2 separate regions of the Homo sapiens genome follow, and region 2 is linked to region 1. Evidence: promoter capture Hi-C in 16 types of primary human blood cells and fetal thymus (Javierre and others, 2016). All regions are on one chromosome and are shown on one strand. The core of a region is centred on a gene start or on the middle of the fragment in contact, and the rest is flanking DNA. Distances in the headings are between cores, read along the strand shown. Region 1 holds the start of ZNHIT1 (zinc finger HIT-type containing 1). Region 2 has its middle 6.0 kb from the start of EPHB4.

Region 1 (6,913 bases), core at 293-2,792:
TGCCTGTAATTCTAGCATTTTGGGGGGCCGAGGCGGGTGGATCACGAGGTCAGGAGATCAAGACCATCCTGGCTAACATGGTGAAACCCTGTCTCTACTAAAAATACAAAAGATAAGCTGGGTGTGGTGGCGGGCGCCTGTAGTCCCAGCTACTCCAGAAGCTGAGGCCAGAGAATGGTGTGAACCCGGGAGGCAGAGCTTGCAGTGAACCGAGATTGCGCCACTGCACTCCAGCCTGGGGGACAGAGCAAGACTCCGTCTCAAAAAGAAAAAAAAAGAAAGAAAGAAAAACTAAAAGGGCCAAGCGCAGTGGCTCATACTTGTAATCCTAGCATTTTGGAAGGCCGAGGCAGGAGGATCACATGAGCTCAGGAGTTCAAGACCAGCCTGGGCAACATAGTGAGACACCCATCTCAACAAAAAATATAAAAACTAGCCCAGCATGGTGGCCTGCACCCACCTGTAGTTCCACCTACTCAGGTGGCTGAGGTGGAAGAATCACTTGAGCATGGGAGGTTGAGGCTGCAGTGAGTTATATAGAACCACTGCATTCCAGCCTGGGTGACAGAGCAAGACTCTGTCTAAAAAAAAAAAGTCTTTGCTGGCTCTCCAGTGTTTCCCTACAGAGTTCAAACTCCTGGGCAGTGTGTATAATGCCTTTCAAAATGTAACCTTTCCCCAGCCTTCGATCCTTTCTTATTACTCTGTAAGATCCAAACTGTGAACTTGGCTTCCTAAGCGACTTGCTTTTTCTTGCTTCACTGCCTTTGCACGTGAGGTTCCCACTGAGAGAAACCCTAACTAGACTTTCAAGACTCAATTCAAGCTTTTTCATTTTTCCTTCAAGCTTTCACAGTCCCCTGCCTCCCAGAACCTGGGCTAGATGCCACGTCTCCCTGTTCCCAGGCGCTGTGCTTCCCTCTGCCATAGCACAAATCACAAATCACAGTAAAATACAGTGTTAGGTCTGCGTTTCTGCCCCCCTTCCAGAAAAAGCCAATGCTTGGATAAGAGGGGTCTTTCTCCTCTTCATCCCCAGCGCCCGGCTTGGAGCAGGCACCAATAAAACGTGAATGAAGGGTCAACGCCAGGACCCGAGGGCTGAGGAAGGGATTTACGAGGAATAGCTGGGGCCGGGCGCGGCAGCTCACGCCTGTAATCCCAGCACTTTGGAAGGCCCACGCAGGAGGATCGCTTTGAGGCCAAGAGTTGGAGACCAACCTGGGCAACATAGCGAGAGCCCGTCACCACATAACAAATTAAAAATTAACCAGGCGTGGGGCCTCATGCTTGCAGTTCCAGCCACTCCGGAGGCTGAGGTGGGAGGATGGTTTGATCCCAGGAAATCGAGGCTGCAGTGAGCTATGACTATGCCACTGCACTCCAGCCTAGGCGAAAGAGCGAGACCAAAAAAGAGGAATGACTAGGTAAGAAAATTCTAGGACTGACTTGGGAAGGGGAAGGGGGCGAACCGCGGGGGCTCACATACCCGAAGTTTTCTTCTCCACCATTGGCACAACACAACTGTCGGAAGAAACTGCTGCGCACGCGTACTAACCCCAAGGCTTTAGTAGGGGCGCCATCACTTCCGGTAGCTTGTACTTCTGCGCGTGCGCCACAGCTTTGACTCATTACGTGGCGTTTCCTTGGAGACAAGAAAGCTTTTCGCCATGTTTTATAGGGGCAAAACCACTTCCGGCCTCAGTGTGGAGGTGTAAATCTTGTGGGAGCCACGAAATGGGTCATTTTAAAGATGTGGTCACGGTGTTCTTACAAGAAATCTTATTTTCCTTTGGTCCTTGTGAAGATGCTGTGATCACAAAGGCAGCCCCTGGAGCTTCTCCGGGCAGAAGAGGAGGTGGGCTGGACTGTCAAAGAAAGTGGCTGGCTTCCGTGGGCAATCCGAGGTTCCTAGTGGCCCTCTGCAGAAAGCTGAACTCCCAGTTCCCCCAGGCCTCCGTCCCGCGGCGGACTCCTAGGCTTCCTCCCTCCCTGTCGCCGCCAGCCTCTCGCTCTCCCCGTCTTCCGCCCGCACTCTCTGGGCAGGGCTGCGGCCAGGACCCGCCCCCGCGTCCCGCCCGACCCTCCGCCAGGGGTCACTTCCCCTGTCCAGGTTTCAGCTTCCACATGTGTCAAGCGGCTGGCTCAGCCCAGAGTCCCTGTCTCCCGCCCGCCGGCCCGAGCCGCCGCCCCTCCCCCGCCTCCCGTGCGCCCGGGACAATCCTCGCCTTGTCTGTGGCGCCGGCATCTGGAGCTTTCTGTAGCCTCCGGATACGCCTTTTTTTCAGGGCGTAGCCCCAGCCAAGCTGCTCCCCGCGGCGGCCGCACAGCAGCCCGAGCGCCCCCTTTCCAGAGCTCCCCTCCGGAGCTGGGATCCAGGCGCGTAGCGGAGATCCCAGGATCCTGGGTGCTGTCTGGGCCCGCTCCCCACCATGACCTCCTCGGGGCCTGGACCCCGGTTCCTGCTGCTGCTGCCGCTGCTGCTGCCCCCTGCGGCCTCAGCCTCCGACCGGCCCCGGGGCCGAGACCCGGTCAACCCAGGTGAGATCCCGGGGAGGCCCGGCACGGCCGAGGGGGCAGAGGCTGGCGTGCCTGCCAGCCTGGCCCGGAGAGGGTCGGAGGCTCGAGGAGGTGTCTGGCCCGTCCCCCGCCCAGCGTGCTCTTGAGGCTGAGTCGCGCCAAGCCCCTCGCCCATCACTACCCTGAACTGGGGTTTCCAGCCTCCCTATGCAAAGGGACTCGGAATTCCTGGGCACCACTCCCACCCTGCCCTCCTTGGGGTCAGAGTGTTCCTGGGTGAGAAGAGTTTAAGAATGGGAAGGAAGAAAGGGAGGGAAGTCGAGTGAGAGGGAGGACAGCAAAGCACGTGAGGCCCGGAGCTGGGCGGTGGATCTCAAGTGCCATTTCCCTCTGGTAACAGAGAAGCTGCTGGTGATCACTGTGGCCACAGCTGAAACCGAGGGGTACCTGCGTTTCCTGCGCTCTGCGGAGTTCTTCAACTACACTGTGCGGGTGAGGAGAGGGAAAGGCCCCTGGGAGGGGGTCCCAGCAGGAGGGGTGGGCTGAAGTCTGGATGCCCAGGTCCCCACGGTAAGCCTGGTCAGGAGTTCCCCCCACAACTCCCCACCCCTTGCCTGGCACGGGGCAATCTTCTCCACAGACCCTGGGCCTGGGAGAGGAGTGGCGAGGGGGTGATGTGGCTCGAACAGTTGGTGGAGGACAGAAGGTCCGGTGGTTAAAGAAGGAAATGGAGAAATACGCTGACCGGGAGGATATGATCATCATGTTTGTGGATAGGTAACGGGGCTGGGGATAGGGAGCGGGGTAAGGATGCTGAGGTTCCCAGTGGACCCCTGCCCATCCTCCCCTTCCTCACCCAGCTACGACGTGATTCTGGCCGGCAGCCCCACAGAGCTGCTGAAGAAGTTCGTCCAGAGTGGCAGCCGCCTGCTCTTCTCTGCAGAGAGCTTCTGCTGGCCCGAGTGGGGGCTGGCGGAGCAGTACCCTGAGGTGGGCACGGGGAAGCGCTTCCTCAATTCTGGTGGTGAGTGGCAGAGTGCCCAAGGCAGAGGGGCCAAGAGCGGTGGGACACAGAGTGTTAAAGGCGCCTGAGGGCTGGAGACAGCCTGGGGGACAGGCCCTGGGACCCTGGGAGTCTCGAGGTCAACACTCCCCCTCCCCGCCAGGATTCATCGGTTTTGCCACCACCATCCACCAAATCGTGCGCCAGTGGAAGTACAAGGATGATGACGACGACCAGCTGTTCTACACACGGCTCTACCTGGACCCAGGACTGAGGGTAGGGAAGGCAGAGGAGTGGGCGCATCCCGCAGCTCTGTGGGAGTGGAGGCCTCAGGCTGAATGGGATTTGGGGAGCAAAGGGGGTTGCAAAGAGAAAAATGTGTGCCTGGGCGTGGTGGCTCACGCCTGTCATCCAAGACTTTTGGGAGGCTTAGGCAGGAGGATTGCTTGAGTCCAGGAATTTAAGACCAGCCTGGACAACATAGTTGAGACCTCATCTCTACAAAAAAAAAGAAAGAAAAAATTAGCCAGGCTTCATGGTGTACGCCTGTAATCCCAGCTACTTGGGAGGCTGAGGTGGGACCATCACTTGAGCCCAGGAGTTTGAGGATGTTTTGCACCACTGCATTCCAGCCTGGGTGACAGAATGAGACTCTGTCTCTCACAAAAAAAGGAAAACCATGGTGGCTCATGCCTATAATCCCAGCACTTTGGGAGGCTGAGGCGGGTGGATCACCTGAGATTGGGAGTTTGAGACCAGCCTGGCCAACATGGTGAAACCCCGTCTCTACTAAAAATACAAAAATTAGCCAGGCGTGGTGACACTCTCCTGTAGTCCCAGTTACTTGGAAGGCTGAAGCAAGAGAATCAATTAAACCGGGAGGCAGAGGTTGCAGTGAGCTGAGATCGTGCCATTGCACTCCAGCCTAAGCAACAAAAGCAAGAGAAGAAAAAAAGAGAGAGAAAAGTGAGAAATGATGTCCTTTCCACTCCTTCCATTTTAACCACTCCATCGCATCTCATTCCATTTAGGAGAAACTCAGCCTTAATCTGGATCATAAGTCTCGGATCTTTCAGAACCTCAACGGGGCTTTAGGTGAGGAGGAAGACAGCCGCAGGTGGGCGATGCGCAGCCTCTGCAGCTAGGGGTCTTGAGCTGGGAGAGGCTTCTGGAGGAGCTGGGCTGATCCAAGCCCACCTCTATGTGGTTTTGTCAGGCGTCTGAGTGGCTGGTTGTGTAAGTTGCACTGTGCTGATGGTACTACCAGAAGCAAGGGAAGCAAAAACGTGTCTGGCATCTGTTGCACACATGCTGTGCCTGGGCACCGGGCCAGGGACTTTTTTTTTTGAGACAGAGTTTCGCTCTGTTGCCCGGGCCGGAGTGCAGTGGTCCAATCTTGGCTCACTGCAGCCTCCACCTCCCGGGTTCAAGTGATTCTTCTGCCTCAGCCTCCCGAGTAGCTGGGATTACAGGCATGCGCCACCACGCCCAGCTCATTTTGTATTTTTAGTAGAGACAGGGTTTCACCATGGTGGCCAGGCTAGTCTCGAACTCCCAACCTCAGGTGATCCGCCTGCCTCAACCTCCCAAAGTGCTGGGATTACAGGCATGAGCCACTGTGCCCGGTCTACTTCTGTGATTCCATTTAACAAAGGGAAGGTCCCTGGTTATCCTTCTTGTACAGATGAGGAAAACAGCTTGTGGAGGGGTTGGTGACTTGCCTCAGGGGATGGGGAGAACGGGGAGAGAGAGAGGCCAGGCACGGTGCCTCACGCCTGTAATCCCAACATTTTGGGAGGCCCAGGCAGGAGGATCACTTGAGGTCAGGAGTTTGAGACCAGCCTGGCCAACATGGCGAAAACCCGTCTCTACTAAAAAAAAGTACAAAAATGAGCTGGGCGTGGTGGCGGGTGCCTGTAATCCCAGCTATTCAGAAGGCTGAGGCAGGAGAATCACTGGAACCCGGGAGGCAGAGCTTGCAGTGAGCCGAGATTGCGCCACTGCACTCCTGCCTGGGTGACAGAGTGAGATTCCTTCTCAAAAAAAAAAAAGGCCAGGTGCGACAGCTCACATCTGTAATCCCAGCACTTTGGAAGGCTGAGGCGGGCAGATCATGAAGTCAGAAGTTTGAGACCAGCCTGGCTGACATAGTGAAACCCAGTCTCTACTAAATATACAAAAATTAGGCTGGGTGTGGTGGCTCATGCTTGTAATCCTAGCACTTTGGGAGGCCGAGGCAGGTGGATCACCTGAGGTCAGGAGTTCAAGGCCAGCCTGGTCGACATGGTGAAACCCTGTCTCTACTAAAAACACAAAAATTAGCCGGGCATGGTGGTGCGCGCCTGTAATCCTGGCTACCCGGGAGGCTGAGGAAGGAGAATCGCTTGAACCCTGGAGGTGGAAGTTGCAATGAGCCAAGATCGTGCCACTGCACTCCAGCCTGCGTGTTGGGAGTGAGACTCCATCTCAGCATAAAAAACAAAAAATACAAATACAAAAATTAGCCAGGTGTAGTGGCATGTGCCCATAGTCTCAGCTACCTGAAAGGCTGAGGCAAGAGAATCTTTTGAACTCAGGAGGCAGAGGTTGCAGTGAGCCGAGACCACGCCATTGCACTCCAGCCTGGGTGACAGAGTGAGACTCCATCTCAAAAAATAAAAATAAAAAAAAAAAAAAACAAGGAGAGAGAGAATATGAGGAGGGGTAGGGATGCTGAGGCTCCTACTGGCCTCCCGCTCAGCTCACCCTCCCCTTCCTCGCCCAGCTGCGGTGTGATCACGCAGGTAGTAGGCAGTGGAGCTCTCTGGGCCAGCAGCCTGGTCAGAACCCAAAGGTTCCTGCCCACAACGAGCCACACTCCAGGATAGCCCTGGTGTCCCTTTATTCCCTGGAGAATTTGGGACCCCATATTTAGAAGAATGTGTTGCTTGGTAGCTCCCAGAGAAAGGGGGTCTGAAGCCTGGCCTTTTTCTTCCCCAGATGAAGTGGTTTTAAAGTTTGATCGGAACCGTGTGCGTATCCGGAACGTGGCCTACGACACGCTCCCCATTGTGGTCCATGGAAACGGTCCCACTAAGGTGCCACCAGTGGTCTCAACCCCCGCCCCGCCCTGCCCCAACCCCCAGGCACCTCCAACCCTTCTGAGAAGCTGGCCCTTCCCAGCCCCCATATCAGAGGTGCCTGACCCCCACCTCCACCCCTGGAGGCCTCAGCCACTCAGCCTCAGTCTGTCCCCAACAGCTGCAGCTCAACTACCTGGGAAACTACGTCCCCAATGGCTGGACTCCTGAGGGAGGCTGTGGCTTCTGCAACCAGGACCGGAGGACACTCCCGGGGGGGCAGGTGAGGTGGGGGTGCCAGGGAGGGGCACGAGAGGGCAGCGTGCTGAGC
Region 2 (6,737 bases), core at 1,599-4,098, 380 kb after region 1:
AGGCCTTAAATGCTAATTTCCTGGAGATCCGCCCACCTCACCCCCACCCTCCCCCACCCCATTCCTGCTGTAAACTCCCCAGGATTAAGTCTGGTGAATCTGCGCCCCCCTCCCCCAGGTCCCAGGGGCAGATGAGCCCTTGGGCACCGCCCCTCCAATTTCCTGCAGACCCAGCAAACAAAAGACTCTCGGGAAGAGAGGCGAGCTGAGCAGGGCGCCCTTCCTGCAAGAACAGCTGATGGGGCAAAACGGCCCAGGAGTGAGCCGAGGGGAGGGATGAAATTCCAGGGTTCCTGGAGGGCAGCAGTGCGAGGCTAGACCCCTGGATCCTGGGGAGGGAGGGTATCTGGGCAGCAGCTGGATGTGGAAGGCTCTGGCCAGACAGGTTGCTGGGCTGTGGCGCATGGGGTGATGTCAGCCTTAGGGAATGGAGCGGGGGGTGGGTTTTCTGAGGTTCAGGTGAGCTCTCTGGTCCCCAGGCTGGAAGAGTGGGGCCTGGGAGAGGGCTGAGGCCCTGCGTCATCTCCTCTGGGGCCCGGCCTACCTTCCCCTGGCCCGACCTGCTACCCTCGGTGCCGGCCCCACCCGGCCTGGCTTCCTGCTCCTCCCCACACACATCTTTCTGTGCCAAGCTTCCCTAACCAGCCCAAGAGCTTCTTGTCCCTTCCAGACCCCGGTATCCTGGCCTCCAGCCACAAATAGTCCTTCTTACTTTCCCTCCTAGAGCCAGCCTCCTGCCTGCCCCTGCTCCCATTCCCAGCCAGGACACAATAGTCAGGGAAGGGCCACAGTGCAGTCCAGTGGGTGCTGGGATGCTGCTGGCATGGGGGGGCTTGGCCTCATATCCTGCCAGGCTGTCAGGGGAAGAGAGGAAACAAAAGACTTCCCCCTGCTGGGACAATGAGCCTCCCACTACCTCTCCCCAACCCTCCCACTACCCTGTACCTTTCCACTCCACTCCCTGAACAGTCGTTCTTAGCTCTGGCCCCAGCCCCTTAGCCTCTCTCTCCTCCACCTCCATGCCCTTTGGCATCCCTGGCCTCTGCTACAAGCTCTGCCCTTCTCTCATTCTTATCAGCTCACTGATGCTCACTGCCATTTCTAGCTATTTCTCTCAGCCTCTTGCTATTCCAACAGCACTCAAGAGCCCTTCCTCTATCCCCAGCACTAGGGAGGGGAGCAGGATGGGAAAGTCTGCATGAAATGTTAAAGGGTCAATCACACTCTTTTGTGTATGTGTGTTTTTGTTTTTTTGTTGTTTTTTTTTTTGAGACGGAGTCTTGCTCTGTCACCCAGGCTGGAGTGCAGTGGTGCAATCTCAGCTCACTGCAACCTCTGCCTCCCGGGTTCAAGCGATTCTCCTGCCTCAGCCTCCCAAGTAGCTGGGACTACAGGCGCGTACCACCACACCCAGCTAATTTTTGTATTTTTAGTAGAGACGGGGTTTCACCATGTTGGCCAGGATGGTCTCGATCTCTTGACCTCGGGATCTGCCCACCTCGGCTTCCCAAAGTGCTGGGATTACAGGCATGAGCGACCGCGCCCGGCATTTTTTTTTTTTTTAAAGACAGAGCCTCGCTTTGTTGCCCCGGCTGGAGTGCAGTGGAACCATCTCAGCTCACTGCAACCTCTACCTCCCAGGTTCAAGCGATTCTCCTGCCTCAGCCTCCCAAGTAGCTGGATAACAGGCACGCACCACCATGCCCAGCTAATTTTTGTGTTTTTAGTAGAGACTGGGTTTCACCATGTTGGCCAGGCCGGTCTCAAACTCCTGACCTCAGGTGATCCACTTGCCTTGGCCTCCCAAAGTGCTGGGATTACAGGCGTGAGCCACTGCACCCGGCCAATCACACTCTTTTGTTTGTTTATTTTAATTTTTTTTGTTGAAACGGGGTCTCACTCTGTTGCCCAGGCTGCAGTGCAGTGGTGTGATCACGGCGGCTCACTGCAGCCTCCACCTCCTGGGGTCAAGCAATCCTCCTGTCTCAGCCTCCTGTATAGTTGGGATTACAGGCGTGAGCCACTGTGCCCAGCCCATTATTTTTATTTTTGAGACAGGGTCTTGCTCTGTTGCCCAGACTGGAATGCAGTGGTGCAATCTCACTACAACCTCTGCCTCCTGGGCTCGGGTGATCCTCTCACCTCAGCCCCCCGAACAGCTGGGACCACAGGCGTGCTCCACCACGCCTGGCTAATTTTTGTAGAGATGAGGATTCATCATGTTGCCCAGGCTGGTCTTGTACTCCTGGTCTCAAGTGATCTGCCAGCTGCGTCCTCCCAAATGCTGGGATTCTAGGTGTGAGCCACCGCACCCAACCCTTATCTCCTGAATCCTCCCCGGCTCCATACATGCGTGCACCATCCCCCCCAACACACACACACTCACACATACACGCCTATCTGGGTTCAAACCCACATAGTCACTTGGATGCTGCACTGGTTTCCCCGCCTTCAGTCTTCATTCCTTTCAGTCTATTCTCCAAAATTGTATAAGTGGGATCTTTCTCTACAAACCATGCAATGTTGCTTCTTGGCCTAAAACCCTTCACTAGCTCCCCAGAGCAGTCCTGCAAAAACCCGTAATGACCTGAGGCTGGCCCTCACTCACCTCTCCAGTTCACCCATGGTCACTGTCCTTGCCCTCTCTGACCTGGCGTTGTGAACTCTGGCAGCTCTCTGAATGGGGCGACCTCACAACTCTGCCTTTAAACTCCTTTCCTGCCAATCTCTAGGACTCATTCAGACATCATCACCTTCTGCAGAAAGCTCACCTGAAACCTGCATCGGCTGTGCTTCCTGCGTGATCCTGTAGGGTCCTCTGTGCACCACAAGTTAGGCTGTGCGCTTAGCCACCTGGATGCTGGTGAGGCCCCGTGGCTGTTTCTACCCCTGACTTGTCTAATCCTGGAAGGTAGAAAATGACTTGGTGTCCTCCATTTTCAATTTTTCCTTCTTTCTTTTTTTTTTTTTTTTTTTTTTTTTTTTTGAGACAGAGTCTCGCTCTGTACCTGAGGCTGGAGTGCAGTGGCGTGATCTGGGTTCACTGCAAGCTCCGCCTCCCGGGTTCCCGCCATTCTCCTGCCTCAGCCTCCCAAGTAGCTGGGACTACAGGTGCCCACCACCACACCCGGCTAATTTTTGTATTTTTAGTAGAGATGGGGTTTCACCATGTTAGCCAGGATTGTCTCGATCTCCTGACTTCGTGATCCGCCCACCTCAGCCTCCCAAAGTGCTGGGATTATAGGTGTGAGCCACCACACCCAGCTATTTTTTCTTTAGAGCTGGGGTCTCACTATGTTGCCCAGGCTGGCCTGGAACTCCTGGGCTCAAGTGATCCTCCCACCTCGGCCTCCCAAAGTGCTGGGATTACAGGCATGAGCCACCATACCTTGTCTGTTTTTTTTTGTTTTGTTTTGTTTTTTTGCTTTTTGTTTTGTTTTGCTTTGCTTTGAGACAGAGTCTCGCTCTGTCACCCAGCCTGGAGTGCAGTGGTACAATCTTGGCTCACTGCAACCTCTGCCTCCTGGATTCAAGCAATTCTCGTGCCTCAGCCTCCTGAGTAGCTGGGATTACAGGCGTGTGCCACTGTAACTGGCTAATTTTTCTATTTTTAGTAGAGACGGGCCAGGCAGGTCTTGAACTCCCAACCTCAGGTGATCCACCCGCCTCGGCCTCCCAAAGTGCTAAGATTACAGGTGTGAGCCACTGCGCCCAGCCTTTTTTTCAACTTTTTTTTTGGCCTCACACAGTGCTAGAATTAGGTAGGAGTTTGAGACCAGCCTGGACAACATAGCAAGACCTCATGTCTACAAAAAATAAAAATAAAATAAAATAAATTAGCCAGGCCAGGTGCAGTGGATCACACCTGTAATCATAGGACTTTGGGAGGCTGAGGCTAGACAATCACTTGAGCTCAAGAGTTCAAGACCAGCCTGCGCAACATAGTGAGACCCTGTCTGTACAAACACTAAAAATATTAGCTAGGCATGGTGGCACACGCCTGTAGTCTCAGCTACTTGGGAGGCTGAGGCAGGAGGATCGCTTGAGCCTGGGAGTTCGAGGCTGCAGTGAGCCTCGATCGTGCCACTGCACTCCAGCATGGGTGACAAAGGGAGACCCTGTCTCTTAAAAAAAGAAAAAAAAAGGTATAAAATCTTTGGATTGAGAGAAGAAATCACAGCTGACCTCAAATGTTTAAAATATGACAAATATCATAAATATTATACAAGCTAGAAAAATAACAACATTTATAGTAAAGAAGACTGATATAGCCCTGGAATACTTGCATTTACTACCTTTTTCTTAGATGTGTACTCTTTGACCATCTCTTCATATGATGATTTTGTAATATTATTTTCTATTCTTTCTCTGTCTTTCCTCTAGGATGGCTGATTAATTTTTGCTTAGAGATGGGGTCTCGCTCTGTTGCCCAGGTTGGAGTGCAGTGGTGCCATCACGGCTCCCTGCAGCCTAGACCTCTCAGGCTCAGTGATCCTCCCACCTCGGCCTCCCCAGTGTCTGAGAGACCATAGCCACATGCCACCACGCCCAGCTATTTTTTATTTTTTATTTTCTGGTAGAGACAGGGGTCTCACTTTGTTGCCCAGGCCGGTCTCAAACTCCAGGACTCAAGCAATCCTCCTGCCTTGGCTTCCCAAAGTGCTGGAATTACAGGTGTGAGCCACAGTGCCTGGCTAAGTTATTTTTTTTTGGTGGGAGTGGGACGGAGTCTCGCTCTGTTGCCAGGCTGGAGTGCAGTGGCGCGATCTCGGCTCACTGCAACCTCCGCCTCCCAAGTTCAAGTGATTCTCCTGCCTCAGCCTCCCGAGTAGCCTGGCTAAGTTTTTAAGGTTTCATCATTGTTTATAAAAATTTATTTGAGCTTTACAACTCTATTGGTAATGTTGAAAACTCTATCAAATTCCTTTTGTAACAGAGCTGTAAGATTTCAGGTCATTTCAAGTGTTGTCCTGCTGAAACTCACCTTCAAAACTGTTTAAATTATGGCACTTATTAACCAGGGCCGTGGAAGAAGCCAGGCAGGTGAGAGGTGCTGAAGCTTAAACTTCATGAACTTTGGGGTAAACCTGAACTTTGGACCCGACACAGTTAGGTGGCCCAGAAGAGGGGAGACTGAGATGTGGAAAGAGTAATGAGAAGTTCAACAATTTACGGAGAAAGGGGTGATTTGCTGCTTGTTATTTCTTACAATAGGAAAAGCTGTAACTCCAGGATTACTCAAAACAACTGTCACAATCTGTACAAGAAAAAGTAAACTTATTAGCCGGGCATGGTCCCCGCGCGGGGTCCCAGCTCCTCAGGAGGCTGAGGAAAGATTGCTCGAGCCCAGGAGGTCAAGGCTGCAGTGAGCCATGACCGTGCCACTGCACTCCAGCCTGGGCAATACAGTAAGACCCTATCTCTAAAAAAAAGAGCCACGTGCAGTGGCTCACGCCTGTAATCCCAGCACTTTGGGAGGCCAAGGCAGGTGGATCACCTTAGGTCAGGAGTTCCAGACCAGCCTGACCAACATGGAGAAACCCCGCGTCTACTAAAAATACAAAATTAGCCCGGTGTGGTGGCATATGCCTGTAATCCCAGCTACCTGGGAGGCTGAGGCGGGAGAATCACTTGAACCCAGGAGGCAGAGGTTGTGGTGAGCCGAGATCGCACCTTTGCACTCCAGCCTGGGCAACAAGAGTGAAACGCCGTCTCCAAAAATAAAATAAAATAAAATACAAAAGAAAAGAAAAAGAAAACTCCAGTAGCTGTTGGTGGATGCTATGCGCAAGTACCGACAATGCACCGTGTGATAGCAGTATATTGCTCTGGGCTGGGAACAAAGGTGACAGCCTAATATTTTGGGTAGGGAACAGCAAAGTGCTCTAATAATGAGGAAGGGAGGGCTGAGTTTGGTTTGGTCTGCAGAACAGGCATGGATTCAGGTAGTAACGTGAATGTTCACCCACGTTCTGTAATTTAGTGGCTACTGAATTTGCTTGCCTGGGAAGTGGTTCTGGGTGGTCTAAGGGTGGAGGACATGACTTCACACACACAGGATAGACCAAGGGTGGTTCCTGAGAATTGAAGTGAAAATCTCAGATGCCATCTCCACGTAAAGGGGAAATCATGGGATTTTTTTTCTACCAGGTTGTAATTCACCAGATGACATAAAACTATATTAATTTTTACCAGATTCTCTTTGAGGCCAGGAACCATGTTTTACAAATCTTGAAAACTAGCAATGTGATCACTCGGCACGTAGTAGATGCTCAGTAAAGATTTCATTTTTTCATTCTTTGACTGGCATACACTAGATGGTAGAAAATAGATTACTGCCTGGTGTGGGGTGTGGGCTGATGACCTGACATGGAATAGAATGTTTTCTCTCTTTCTTTCTTTCTTTTTTTGTAGACAGGGTCTCGCTATGTTGTTCAGGCTGCCCTCAAACTCCTGGACTGAAACGATCCTCTCATCTCAGCCTCCAAAAGTGCTGGCATTACAGGTATGAGTCACTGTGCCCCACTAAGATGAGTGTTTTCTATTGTTTAATTAATTTATGTTTTGAGACAGAGTTTCACTCTGTTGCCCAGGCTGGAGTGCAGTGGCACGATTTCAGCTCACTGCAACCTCTGCCTCCCAGGGTTCAAGCAATTCTCCTGTCTCAGCCTCCCGAGTAGCTGGGACTGCAGGCCTGCACCACCACACCTGGCTAAGTTTTGTATTTTCAGTAGAGA

What was found. Contacts are between HindIII fragments. The CHiCAGO score rates a contact against its expected background, and 5 or more counts as called.
Region 2: a contact is called between a fragment that was not itself captured here and the fragment with the promoter of ZNHIT1 in region 1, in 1 of 17 cell types (activated CD4 T cells). The highest score is 5.1, in activated CD4 T cells.

Annotation. Positions count from the first base shown.
Region 1 is chr7:101,212,794-101,219,706 of GRCh38, reverse strand. It overlaps ZNHIT1 (zinc finger HIT-type containing 1), which reads right to left and starts at 1,542. Exons shown (of 5, transcript NM_006349.3): 1 at 1,490-1,542. The coding sequence starts at 1,511. PLOD3 (procollagen-lysine,2-oxoglutarate 5-dioxygenase 3) reads left to right here and starts at 2,126. Exons shown (of 19, transcript NM_001084.5): 1 at 2,126-2,541; 2 at 2,921-3,012; 3 at 3,161-3,297; 4 at 3,381-3,544; 5 at 3,687-3,799; 6 at 4,555-4,618; 7 at 6,503-6,600; 8 at 6,764-6,865. The coding sequence starts at 2,433. RefSeq lists enhancers at 1,195-1,736, 1,830-1,949, 2,498-3,020 and silencers at 2,050-2,329, 2,470-2,519, 2,580-2,699. The HindIII fragment of the contact is 814 bases long and covers 850-1,663 here.
Region 2 is chr7:100,830,182-100,836,918 of GRCh38, reverse strand. It overlaps a transcript of SLC12A9 not described here. Among named protein-coding and RNA genes, the nearest start is that of EPHB4, 6.0 kb to the right of the region's middle. RefSeq lists enhancers at 1-722, 723-1,642. The HindIII fragment of the contact is 4,427 bases long and covers 635-5,061 here.